2 separate regions of the Homo sapiens genome follow, and region 1 is linked to region 2. Evidence: promoter capture Hi-C in 16 types of primary human blood cells and fetal thymus (Javierre and others, 2016). All regions are on one chromosome and are shown on one strand. Each heading gives the region's core, a stretch centred on a gene start or on the middle of the fragment in contact. The rest is flanking DNA. Distances are from core to core; before and after follow the strand shown.

The links. Contacts are between HindIII fragments. The CHiCAGO score rates a contact against its expected background, and 5 or more counts as called.
Region 1: a contact is called between a fragment that was not itself captured here and the fragment with the promoter of CALHM6 in region 2, in 1 of 17 cell types (neutrophils). The highest score is 6.4, in neutrophils.

The regions. Positions count from the first base shown.
Region 1 is chr6:113,960,800-113,966,965 of GRCh38, forward strand. The region is part of intron 1 of HDAC2 (histone deacetylase 2); the gene reads right to left. Among named protein-coding and RNA genes, the nearest start is that of HDAC2-AS2, 5.8 kb to the right of the region's middle. The HindIII fragment of the contact is 6,420 bases long and covers 1-5,882 here.
Region 2 is chr6:116,456,555-116,462,624 of GRCh38, forward strand. It overlaps CALHM6 (calcium homeostasis modulator family member 6), which reads left to right and starts at 4,821. Exons shown (of 3, transcript NM_001010919.3): 1 at 4,821-4,875; 2 at 5,318-5,900. The coding sequence starts at 5,376. It overlaps CALHM6-AS1 (CALHM6 antisense RNA 1), which reads right to left. Exons shown (of 2, transcript NR_174951.1): 2 at 3,924-4,640. It also overlaps the pseudogene KRT18P22. RefSeq lists enhancers at 5,227-5,336, 5,347-5,426 and a silencer at 5,807-5,886. The HindIII fragment of the contact is 9,761 bases long and covers 1-6,070 here.

The DNA.
Region 1 (6,166 bases), core at 1,423-3,922, 2.5 Mb before region 2:
ATATAAAGTCAACCCTCTGTATCTGTGGATTCAATCAACTGCAGACTGAAAATATTTTTAAAAAATAGATGGTGGTGTCTGCTGGAAACACGTAGAGACTTTTTTTCCTTGTAATCTTCCCCTAAATCATACAGTGTAACAACTATTTACACTGCATTTGCATTGTATTAGGTATTATGAGTAATCTAGAGATGACTTAAAGTGTAAGGGGAGATATACATAGGTTATATGCAAATACTATACCAGTTTATTGAAGGAACTTAAACACCCATGAATTTTGCTATCTGTGGAAGTCTTGGAACTAATTCCCCACAGGGTCAGGACAGTCAAGCTATTTTAATGGTTTGAAGTCTATCATTTCAACACGGGTTTATATATTACAATAAAAGCTAGAATAAAAAATGCAATTTATCCACTAAATCTTTCAAAGTCCTCCCTAAATACACCTTTTGTTTGTTTAATGGAAACAACCCCAAAAACTTTTTTGTCCTCTCTCCTACATATTTGATAACAGTACGGGATAAACAATCAGCTTTTACAAAATCCATGCTTCTAATAACATAAATACTTGATTTTGTTGGTATCACACCTCTAATTTTAGTTAACTTCATTTTCAGCACAGCTCTCTTCTGAAAACAATTCATATACAAAGTCTTTTAAAGGGAAAGCCACCTTTTTAATGCAGGTGCCAACAAGGCTAAGAAACAATATAGAGTTTAGCAAAGCAGGGCCATGGCCCTTTGCAACATTCCTCTGCAATTATAATTAAGAGGCTATGATTGCAGAAAATAAACTACCTATTAAGAAAGAATCTACCATAAAGCTCTACCTTACATGGTGACAATACAAGGGATATATAGTTCCTTGAAAGCAGCCTGGTCTCATCATTTCTTAGATATGGAAAACCCACTAGTGTTATTACAAAGCATCATGTAATTAAATTAATACAAGGGAAGGCATTTCTTAGTTATCACTACTAAAGAAATCATTAAAGTAAAAATAATGAAAGTCTAGTCTTCACTAGAAATGCAGATTCTATGAGGTTTCGTGGGATGACCCTGCCCATAATAATTTCCAATATCACCTAAAACAGAAAAGACACAAACTAAACAATAACTTCCATCTATCTGCCTCTGTGTAACAATTACCCAAATGAAATGTCTCTAACATCTACCACATCATAACATCAAATACTCTAGTTATTTGATGCACACTGAAAATCCAGTGAAAAGCCCCAGGCCCCAATAATTGGAGACTACAGTAGCAATTTCTGAGCAAGTGTGTTTGAAAAAAAAAAAAAGCAGTAATTAACACTTGTTGAGTGCTTACTAGAAGGCACTATTAAGTACTTCACATATCTTTTAATCTTGTCAATAACCTTATGATGTGGGTATTATTACATTATTCCTATTGTATAATAGTAAAGAAGGATGAGAAACAGACAAGTCAGGTATTATTGCCTAAGTCACATAGCCAGCAAGTGGAGGAGCTAGATTCAAACTCTGGCAGGGCAGCTCACAGCTAATGTTCTTAAGTAATAACAACAGGGAATGTCAAGGACACTTACAGATTCACTAGAAATGGCAGGGTGAAGGCTGAAAAAAAGACATAATATGAAATATAAATATTTTAAATAAAGGCTTAGGGTCTTGGTTAATTTAAAGAAAATGAACACAAGAAACTGTACCTAATATATCAGAGTAATTTACTTTTTACTAATAGGGTCCTCAAATCGTATACGAATACGCATAGCTTTCAACAAGTTTCTCTGTTGAAATTTAGGGACCCCAGTCCCACAAAGAATACACAAAGAACCTAAATGATACATGTATACAGGGCAGCCAAGCTACAGATAATTTTTTGGTTTACCAAGAATTCTTCTAGCTGGGCGTGGAGGCTCACACCCGTAATCCCAGTACTTCGGGAGGCCGAGGCGGGCAGATCACGAAGTCAAGAGATCGAGACCTTCCTGACAAACATTGTGAAACCCCGTCTCTACTAAAAATACAAAAAAAAAAGCCAGGTGTGGTGGCATGCGCCTGTAGTCCCAGCTGCTCAGGAGGCTGAGGCAGGAGAATCACTTGAACCCAGGAGGCGGAGGTTGCAGTGAGCCGAGATCGTGCCACTGCACTCCAGCCTGGGTGACAGAGCGAGACTCTGTATCAAAAAAAAAAAAAAAAAAGAATTCTTCTAAAATATAAAGGCGTTATAAAATAACCATCTCCAACTTTTTCCCACTAATTCTGTATCTCACAATTCTCTAGATGGCTACTTTGTAGGCATCCACTTTGTTTTCTTTTTGAGATGGAGTTTCGCTCTTGTCACCCAGGCTGGAGTGCGGTGATGTGATCTTGGCTCACTGCAACCTCCACCTCTGGGGTTCAAGCAATTCTCCTGCCTCAGCCTCCCAAGTAGCTGGGATTACAAGCGCCCACCACCATACCCGGCTAATTTTTGTATTTTTAGTAGTGACGGGGTATCTCCATATTTGCCAGGCTTGTCTCAAACTCCTGACCTCAGATGATCTGCCCGCCTCAGCCTCCCAAAGTGCTGGGATTACAGATGTGAGCCACTGTGCCCAGCCCACTTTTTCATAAAGTATAAAAAGGCTAAGAAGTTTTAAGACCCTACAATTTTTATTCATCATTTAAATGGTCAGTAATGTATTAATAATTTGGGCATTTTAAATGTTACTGATTTGCATCAAAATACAGATTATCCCTAATCCAAAAATTTGATATCCAAAATGTTCCAAAATCTGAACTGTTTTGAGCACCAACTTAATAGTCAAGGAAATGCTAACTGGAGCATGTCAAATTTTTGATTTTCGAATTAGGGATGCTAACTGGTAAATAATTACAAATATTGCAAAACCTCCCCAAATCTGAAATACTTCTGGTCCCAAGAATTCAGATAAAGGATATTCAACCTGTACATAAAAATACTTTACCAATGAAATAAACATTCAGAAAAATCAGCTCAAGGTGGTTCCTTGAACACAACAAACTTTAATTGTCAATGCAAAGAAATTACTGTAAAGAATTATTTATCTGCAAAATTTTACAAATTGCTCACTCTTCAAGAAACTAACAGAATGGAAGTGTCTACTAAGGTCCACAATCTCTTATCCATATTCCTTCAAATTAGATATGTTTCAAATTTTACACTTTTTCAGATTTTGTAGAGATAATATGGTACACCTGCCATATATTATGTAATAGCCTAGAGTTTGGGTGGCATGATATAATCAAACATTAATATTTCTACAGCAAAAAAGTGTGAATATTCACGGTATTCACAGAGGAATAAAGATCATAAATAGCCTCACATTGATTCAGGTTAAGATTTTGATTCCAAATGAGTTACCAAAATTTTTTTCAATTTTCAGGTCATTTTGGATTTCAGAACTGTGAAATGTACCTTTAGCCACAAAGATAAGTTGACTGCAAAAAGAGACTCAGGAAAAAAAAAACAAGAGAAAAGAAAAAAGTTTATTATTTTCATCTTCCAGACTACTTAGCCCACTATCCATTTTTTATACATATTAACACATCTTTAATACATATTTCAAGGAGGTTATTCCTCCTTGAGACATTCGGAGCCTTGGCTTCCATAATACCATTTTCTTGGGATTTTACTTGTACCCCAAGGCCACTCCTCCACCAACCTTTAAACATCAAGGGTTTTCAGTTCAGCCATTCATTTAATAAATCAAGAGCCTACCATGTGCCAAGCAGGTACTGTTCTAAGGGTTTGGGTTCATCAGTGAACAATAGTTCTGCCCTAAATTCTCTTCTCTCGGGAGTTAAGTCCTGGGACCAGTCGTCTGTCTATGCTGTATCTTTTTCAGTCTCAATACTTCACCTGATATAAGCTGAGAAATCCCAAATTTCTATGTCTAGACTCTCCTCTCTGGATTATAAACTCACAGAGGTTAACTCTCTTCTCAGTCTTTTCACTTGAATTCAATAAGGATCTCAAATATAAGATGTTCAAAACAGAGCTCTTTATTTGTATTCCCAATCTTAGTGAGTAGTACCACATACCACCTAACTGCTCAATCCAGAAACTTAGGAGTCATCCTTCATTCTCTAACACCATTCCTCAGCTCCAACTCCATTTCTAATCCATCAAAAAGTTCTATTGGTTTGAGGCCCAAATCTCTCTTAAATATGTCTATTTCTATCTAAAATGCAACCATTACATTTTATATGGACCAATATGTGTTCAATTCTTGCTTCCAGCCTATATTCCACAACTCCTTACCAATTATTTTGAGAGAATGCATTCTATTTGAGAAACTTTCAATGGCTTTCCACCTCTGGGTAAAGTCAAATTTCTTACTACACAGTTTTGTGCAGTCCCACTTTTTACTGCCTAACATGGGACTCCACATTTTCCTTGTCTTCCTTCCCATTAAGTGCACCAAGTTCTATTAATAACTATCTGGCTTTGCTATTTGTAATATCTTATGTAGTAAACTCTTTTTAAGGCTGGCCCATTCTCTTCCTTCAGGTCTTCCCTTTTCTGATTACACTATCAAAGGTCCCCTCTCTTTTACTTTTTTTGTTTTTTTTTTTGAGACAGAGTCTTGCTCTTGCCACCCACCCAGGCTGGAGTGCAATGGCATGATCTCGGCTCACTGCAACCTCTCTGCCTCCCGGGTTCAAGCGATTCTCCTGCCTCAGCCTCCCAAGTAGCTGGGATTACAGGCACCCGTCACCATGCCCAGCTAACTTTTTTTTGTATTTTTAGTAGAGAGAGGGTTTCGCCATGTTGGCCAGGCTGGTCTCAAACTCCTGACCTTGTGATCTGCCCGCCTCGGCTTCCCAAAGTGCTGGGATTATAGGCGTGAGCCACTGCACCCGGCCCCCTCTCTTACTTTATACCTGCAGTCTTTTATTTCCTTCTTAGGACTTGAGCAATCTTTTGTCTATTTGGCACACAGTAGGAACTTTAAGCCTATTTGATATGTCTGAACCCAAAGCTGGCTTAATGAACAAGTAACAATAAGCAGACTGCTACTGAAATACAGAGGAATAAGGCTTAATAACCAGTACAAAAAAATCCTTAGACTTGATTTGAATTCTTCCAAGTTTGAATTTATTAACATTCCCTAAGAGATGCCTTCTCCAATCCCAAGTGTTTTCCTTTAAGGACTTGTCAACAGAAGCATTTAAAGTTTTTGTTAAGGAGTTTTGTTTGTTTGGTAGCAGAGGAAACACTTTGAAAAGGAAAAAAGAAAAATAAAGATTCCGGATGTTGAACTCTCCTTGAACATTAAAACTACAGTCAGTGTGGAAAAGGAAAAGTGGTAGACTGCACCAAACAAATGTGAATCTGTTTTCATCTAAACAATACCAAAAATGCCAAAATGCCACCCATCCTACCTAAATGTAGTTCAGAGTAGTTTCAAGAATTAGAGGGAACGTTATATGAAAGCGTTCTATCTATAAGAATAAGGAATTGGCCAGGCACAGTGGCTCACGCCTGTAATCCCAGCACTTAGGGAGGCTGAGGTGGGTGGATCACCCCAGGTCAGGAGTTCGAGACCAGCCTGGCCAACATGGTAAAACCCCCATCTCTACTAAAAAATACAAAAATTAGCCAGGGGTGGTGGCACGTGCCTGTAATCTCAACTACTTGGGAGGCTGAGGCAAGAGAATCACTTGAACCCGGGAGGGTAGTGGAGGTTGCAGTGAGCTGGGATCACGCCACTGCACTCCAGCCTGGGCAATAAGAGCAAAATTCCATCTCAAAAAAAAAAAAAAAGTATAAGGAATTAATAATTTATTCATCACTAATTAAAAAAAAAAGCTACGTTTTTAAATGTAGTTGGCGAAGATACAAACACAAGCAAAACAGACAGACTGTCCTAATGAAGCTTATGTTATAGTGAGGAGAGAGACAAAAGTTATATGGTACAACCAAAAGGAAGAAAAATAAGGCAATAACAGGGACTTAGGTAATAGGAGAAAGCATCTCTGATGAGGTAAAATTTGAAAGAAAAGAGAGGCAAAAGATTTCTGGGGAAAGAGAAGTATAGGAAAATTTCAGTCTTATTTAGTCATGTTTTATTGTGCAATTAGTATTACTGGTATTTATGAACTGCTGCTATAATTAATTTAGCACTTATTTGCCTCCAAAGAAATTATTACCTATTTCA
Region 2 (6,070 bases), core at 3,571-6,070:
GGAATAAAAATCTTTAAAAGGCTTTTTTGAAATGTCATGGGATTGCCATTTAACAAATGACATCTCTGTGCCAAGGAAAGGGTCTGATCTTTCCCTCCTTCTGCTTTACACTTCCATTGGAAAAAACTTTTATAAACGTTTAAAATATCTGAAGACAACAGCATGTTCCAGATTTTCAAATATGTTATCTAACATGAGCAATATATCCACAAATTTTAACATTCAGAAAGATATTCCCTTTAAGACTAGGAGTGTCAGATTTTGTAAACTAACTTTTTAATTTGGCATCTGGCATTTCTTCTTGCATATGTTACCTAAGATATTTGAATATTAATTTGATTTTACTCTTTTTGGAGGGTCTTGGGGCCAAGATTAATGTTGTATAAGAATCCAGCAGTCATATTCCAAGCAGGGTCATGCCATTAGTCTGTATTCTTATGAGAGCCGCAGAGAACAATGTTTGAGAACTAGCACACATGAAGACAATTGCAAGACACTTTCAGATTCACAGTGTGTATGTGCATTTCCTTTCAAGAAGTTCCTTTTCCAAGAAATGTTCTGTGGTTTCTGAAACCCATTCCTGACATTGAAAATGATAGTGCTGAAAAAGTACTACAGTTAAAGGAAACCAAAGGGAACCCATAACCATTGGCTTTACACTGTGCTTAATGTGAGACTCTACTACTCATTTCTTTTTATTTTTTATTTTTGACCTCTGAACTTTTTATTGGCCTCCTGCTCCTCGAAGGGTCCCCTACTTCTGCTGGCTTAATGTCTCAGAACTTTGGTGTCATTGGTCTCAGACACCACTTCGCCATCCACTATTGGGCGGGTGGTGTCTTTTGGATGGTTTGCATGGAGTTGCTGTTGTCCAGGGCATCACCAAGATTGAAGTCCTCGCCATCTTCCAGCAGGCATTGGTAGGTGGCAATCTGAGTCTCCAGCTTGACTTTGATGTCCAGCAGGGCCTCGTACTGCTGGGCCTAGTGCTGTCCCTCTGCCTGGGTCTGTGCCAGCTCTGACTCCAGGTGCAGCAGGATCCCATTGAGCTGTTCCATCTGCAGGGCATAGCAGGCCTCCACCTCCCTCAGGCTGCTTTCCAAGCGGCCTTCAGATTTCTCATGGAGTCCAGGTCGATCTCCAAGGAATGGATTGTACATCTCAGCTCTGTGAGCGTCATCTCAGCAGCTCCAACCTCGGTGGACTGAGTGGTGGCCACTGTGGTGCTCACCTCAATCTGCTGAGACCAGTACTTGTCCAGCTCCTCTTAGTTCTTCCGAGCCAGCTCGTCATATTGGGCCCAGATGTCTTCCATGATCTTGGCAAGGTCCTGAGATTTGGGGGCATCTACCTCCACGGTCAGCCCAGAGCTGGCAGTCTGGGCTTGTAGGCCTTTACTTCCTCTTCATGGTTCTTCATGAAGAGCAGCTGCTTTTTGAGAGCCTCGATCTCTGTCTCCAGCTGCAGCCGAGTGACATTGGTGTCATCAATGACCTTGTGGACCCCATGGATGTCGCTCTCCACAGACTGGCACATGGGCAGCTCTGTCTCATACTTGACACTGAAGTCATCAGCAGCAAAACAGGCATTGATTTGCAGAACGATGCGGGCATTGTCCACAGTATTTGTGAAGATCTGAGCCCTCAGGTCCTGATGGTCATGAAGTAATGGCTCCAGTCTCTGGCCTGGGGTCCCTTCTTCCCCAGGTGCTCCCGGATTTTGCTCTCCAGCTTCCAGTTCTCGGTCTCCAGGCTCCTCACTCTGTCCAGGTAGGAGGCCAGACAGTCGTTCAGGCTTTGCATGGTCTCCTTCTCATTCTGGATGCCTGCTATCCCTGCCAGACCCCTGGCCATCCCTGCAGCCAGGCCCCCGGATCCCATGCCGCCCCAGAAGCTGGTGGAGCGGGACACAGAGATCCGGGAACCAGAGTCCTGGGTGCCTGCATAGACACTGGCTGCACTGCTGACCAGCTGGGCGATGAAGCTGGGTGTCTGGACAGAGCCCAGGGAATGGTAGTTGGTGGAGAAGGTGGAGCAAGTGGTGAAGCTCATACTGTCCAGGGAGGAGAGCAAGAGGACAGGACTCAGGCTTTACCGATGACATTCTACTACTCATTTCTTAACAGCTGAAGCAAATCACAGGCTTTCAAAAGTGTAAAGACATTTAAAATATTATTTAGTCTACCTCTCCACACCATTAGGGTGTTAGTCAATTTCCACTAAGGGCTGAACTTCTGAGCAATATCCTCTCAGAACAGACCTGGGTATGGAGGGCTGGGAATCTTCAATAGACCCAGAGCTAGAACCAGTCAATCCAGTGGTGGTGGGAGTGGATGGCAGGGTACTAGACTCAAGACCAAGTGCTGGGGAAACATTCAGGCTGGCAGGCAAAACCTGGACTCTCAATTATAGAAACCTGTACTAAGTTCTGAATGATCATTGCATCTGGGAGAGTTGGGTTTGGGAGAGCACAGAAGTAGCAAACCCAGGAGGTGGTGTTTAGAGACACAAGCTGACAAGACAATATGTCAGGATGCAGCTCAGTCTGTGAAAGTTTCAGAGGCAGAATTGCAGACTACATATTCTGGTCTGTGAAGCACCTAAACCTGACCTTCCACTTGCAGCTTTGGCCTCATGATGTGCCAACTTGCCTGTCATTCTCAATGCTCCCATCACTCTAGCCTTCTTTCTAACCAAGCTCCTTTGTACTCCAGACTCATTCAGATTAAATGTCAGTTTCTCACAGAGGCTCTTTCAGGACACTCTCTAACTCCAATTTATCCTGTGCGTAATCTTTAGGACCCCTCCTCTCCATTTCCTATATCATCTCTACTGTAAGTTCAAAGACGGCAGGATACCTGTGTCTTCTTCCTTGTTGTATCCAGCAATACCAGGCACTTTTGATAGGTACTTGACATATTCTGAGTACTTATTAAACATTTAAATGAATGACTGAATGAACAAATGAACTAATTAATAACTGGTTAACAAATGAATTAATCTAGTTGGGGAAGGGGGCTGATAGATAAAAGTTTCTGTAAGTAAACATATTTCAAACAAATCCTTGACTAAATAACAGAAGCCAGGGAAGAGAAGGTGATGGACTTCATTAGAGTCTTAAAAAATGAAGGGAATGAAAACAGACCATAGGAATGAGGTGAAGGAGGAGATGGTGCTGATTAGATTGAGCCTCAGTGGATGATAAACTATTATAGCACAGTGGTAAAACCCTGGTATGGCTATCAGCAGGTAACCAGGAAAATGCCAGCCATCCCTCTTGGTTTGAGAGATGTGGGAGAATAAATTAATCTCACTCAAGAAGACAGAAGGATGCATTTTTATTAGGTTTCGGTTAGGGGAGATTTGGATAAAGCCATCTGCACAAAGGTTGTGGATATAGTGATGTTTCTGCATGATGGAATATGGGAAAGGGTGGACGAGAGAGGACACATCTTAGAGTATTATGGTAGAGGTGAAGAAGAGTCCAGCAGTAAGAGGAGAGTTACTCAAGGCACAGGGGAAGAAATTTATCTTGGGAGATGACAAATTACAAAGATAACAGTCAGAGCAGAAGTGATTCGCTTCAAACACGCAACTTTGCTGCAAGTTGACAGGAAGCCTAGCAGTATCTGGTCTAATCTCAGAGAAGAGGGCCCCAACTTTCCTGCATGACCATGAAGACCCTCATCTGGGGCTGGCCCCTAAACACATAGAAAAAAGATGTCTATTTACCACATCACTATGGAATGACAGCTTTTGGCACTACGCTAGGCACCCTGCTGGTGGTGTTGGAGAGGGAGTAGTTAAGAAGGCAAGTTGGACTAAGAAAAGAATAATACATTTCTTGTCCATTCTCTAAAAATTCACTTGGTTCCATGGGCTACCTATTCTTTCCAGATAAAATAAGGCAAGCCTGGTGGATGGGCACCAATAAGAACCATTTCATTGTGAACTGCCCACCCAAGCTCCATATCCAGATACTCTCCTTGTGGTGAAGCAGACAGCTAAGGTGTACACCAATTCTCTTAAGGTAGCAGAGTCATTGAGTCACTTAATACTATCCACTGAATTGATCCTCGTTTAAAATTCAAAATTCAGTATTCATCAAGATTCTTAGGTTATGTACAATGTAATTATTTGTTGTCTATTCCCCAAATTGCATTTTAAGGGGAAAACTCTCACACTGATCATTCATTTAACAGACATATCCTATATGTAAAGGCACTTTACATATGCTACTCAATCTACTCATGTCAGTAATCTTGAAAAGTGGGCACTATTATCCTTCTTTTACAAATAAGGATGCTGTGTCTCAGAGGGGCATACTTGTTAAACACACCACAGACAAGATGCACTTGACTTCAAAGCCCATGTTCTTTCAAGCACACCTCAGCTCAGTCTGGAGTCACACAGAGTAAGGCTCAATATCACAAAAGTGGTTACAGTGTTTGTGTCAGAACAACGCTGCTTGAGAAAACTGAAGGTGGAGGAAACAACATTAGATAGATGTAGCTGCAGTTTGAAATTTTGGGTTCAACTAGCATTCTTTGAATAATCATGTATCCCCTTCTGTGCAGATCAGCTTGGTGGTCAGAGTCAGAATTTTACTCTCCTCCAGGCATTGACAGTGTTATGACATATCTGAAAGAAAAGAACATTGTATTGACGAGTAAATCAATACAGTATATTTGGTCTAATGTCCTGAAGGAGATCAGGCAGAGGAGAGAAGAGTCAGTGTGAACTAGGCTGGTGGCTCTGTCCGGTAGGGAGATGGAAAGGGTGCCGCCCATCATAGAAGTACCAGAACTTGAGCTGGACTTTGCTGATTTAGCTTATGGAAGAGGAACCAGAAATTTGTCCTTGAATAATGTTTCCCGTAAGTAATCAGTTTTTTGATAATTATTTGGTTTTACTGTGATCTGGCTTAGTAACTAGGGTGGCTGCAATAGAGGAAAATCTGGTATTTCCCAGTTTTTCCAACTGGCGGCCGTGGGTCAAGAAGGTTAGTTTCCTGGTTCGTTGTCAGATTGGTGGTAATAAAGGAACAAGGTCAACCTTCTGTCAGAGTTCCTGAATTGGGGGAGGAAGATAACTGGTGCCTCTGCCTTTGGAATGGGGTGGGTGCCAGAGAAGTCAAGGTCCTGGGGGTGTTTGCTTGCCTGGTTCTGTTAACCAGAGGTGGTGTGGCTGAAATGAGAAAGTGAAACTTTAGGAAGGTCTGAGAAGCCCTCTTCCCTTTAAAAAAAAAAAAAAAAAGGCTGCTTCTCGCAGAGTGGAAAGCCCCGGTCCCCATCCCACCAAAACCATTTGACAAGCAGGACAACGAAGAGGCAGAAGGATCTGGGCCTGTGCGCGACGCCCCGGGGGACGAGGCTCATGGAGAAGTTTCGGGCGGTGCTGGACCTGCACGTCAAGCACCACAGCGCCTTGGGCTACGGCCTGGTGACCCTGCTGACGGCGGGCGGGGAGCGCATCTTCTCCGCCGTGGCATTCCAGTGCCCGTGCAGCGCCGCCTGGAACCTGCCCTACGGCCTGGTCTTCTTGCTGGTGCCGGCGCTCGCGCTCTTCCTCCTGGGCTACGTGCTGAGCGCACGCACGTGGCGCCTGCTCACCGGATGCTGCTCCAGCGCCCGCGCGAGTTGCGGATCGGCGCTGCGCGGCTCCCTGGTGTGCACGCAAATCAGCGCGGCCGCCGCGCTCGCGCCCCTCACCTGGGTGGCCGTGGCGCTGCTCGGGGGCGCCTTTTACGAGTGCGCGGCCACCGGGAGCGCGGCCTTCGCGCAGCGCCTGTGCCTCGGCCGCAACCGCAGCTGCGCCGCGGAGCTGCCGCTGGTGCCGTGCAACCAGGCCAAGGCGTCGGACGTGCAGGACCTCCTGAAGGATCTGAAGGCTCAGTCGCAGGTCTGCCGCTGGCGCTGGGGGCGTTTGGGAGGAGCCGAGAGGCCGAGCTTTCTCAGGGCCGCTGGGGTGAGGGAAAAATCGGTGACTTTTCTCCAGATATACAGTACCCTAAGAAAATCTAGAATGGCTCCTTGCATCTAATTTGCCGTCAAGAGAATATCTGAATAAAA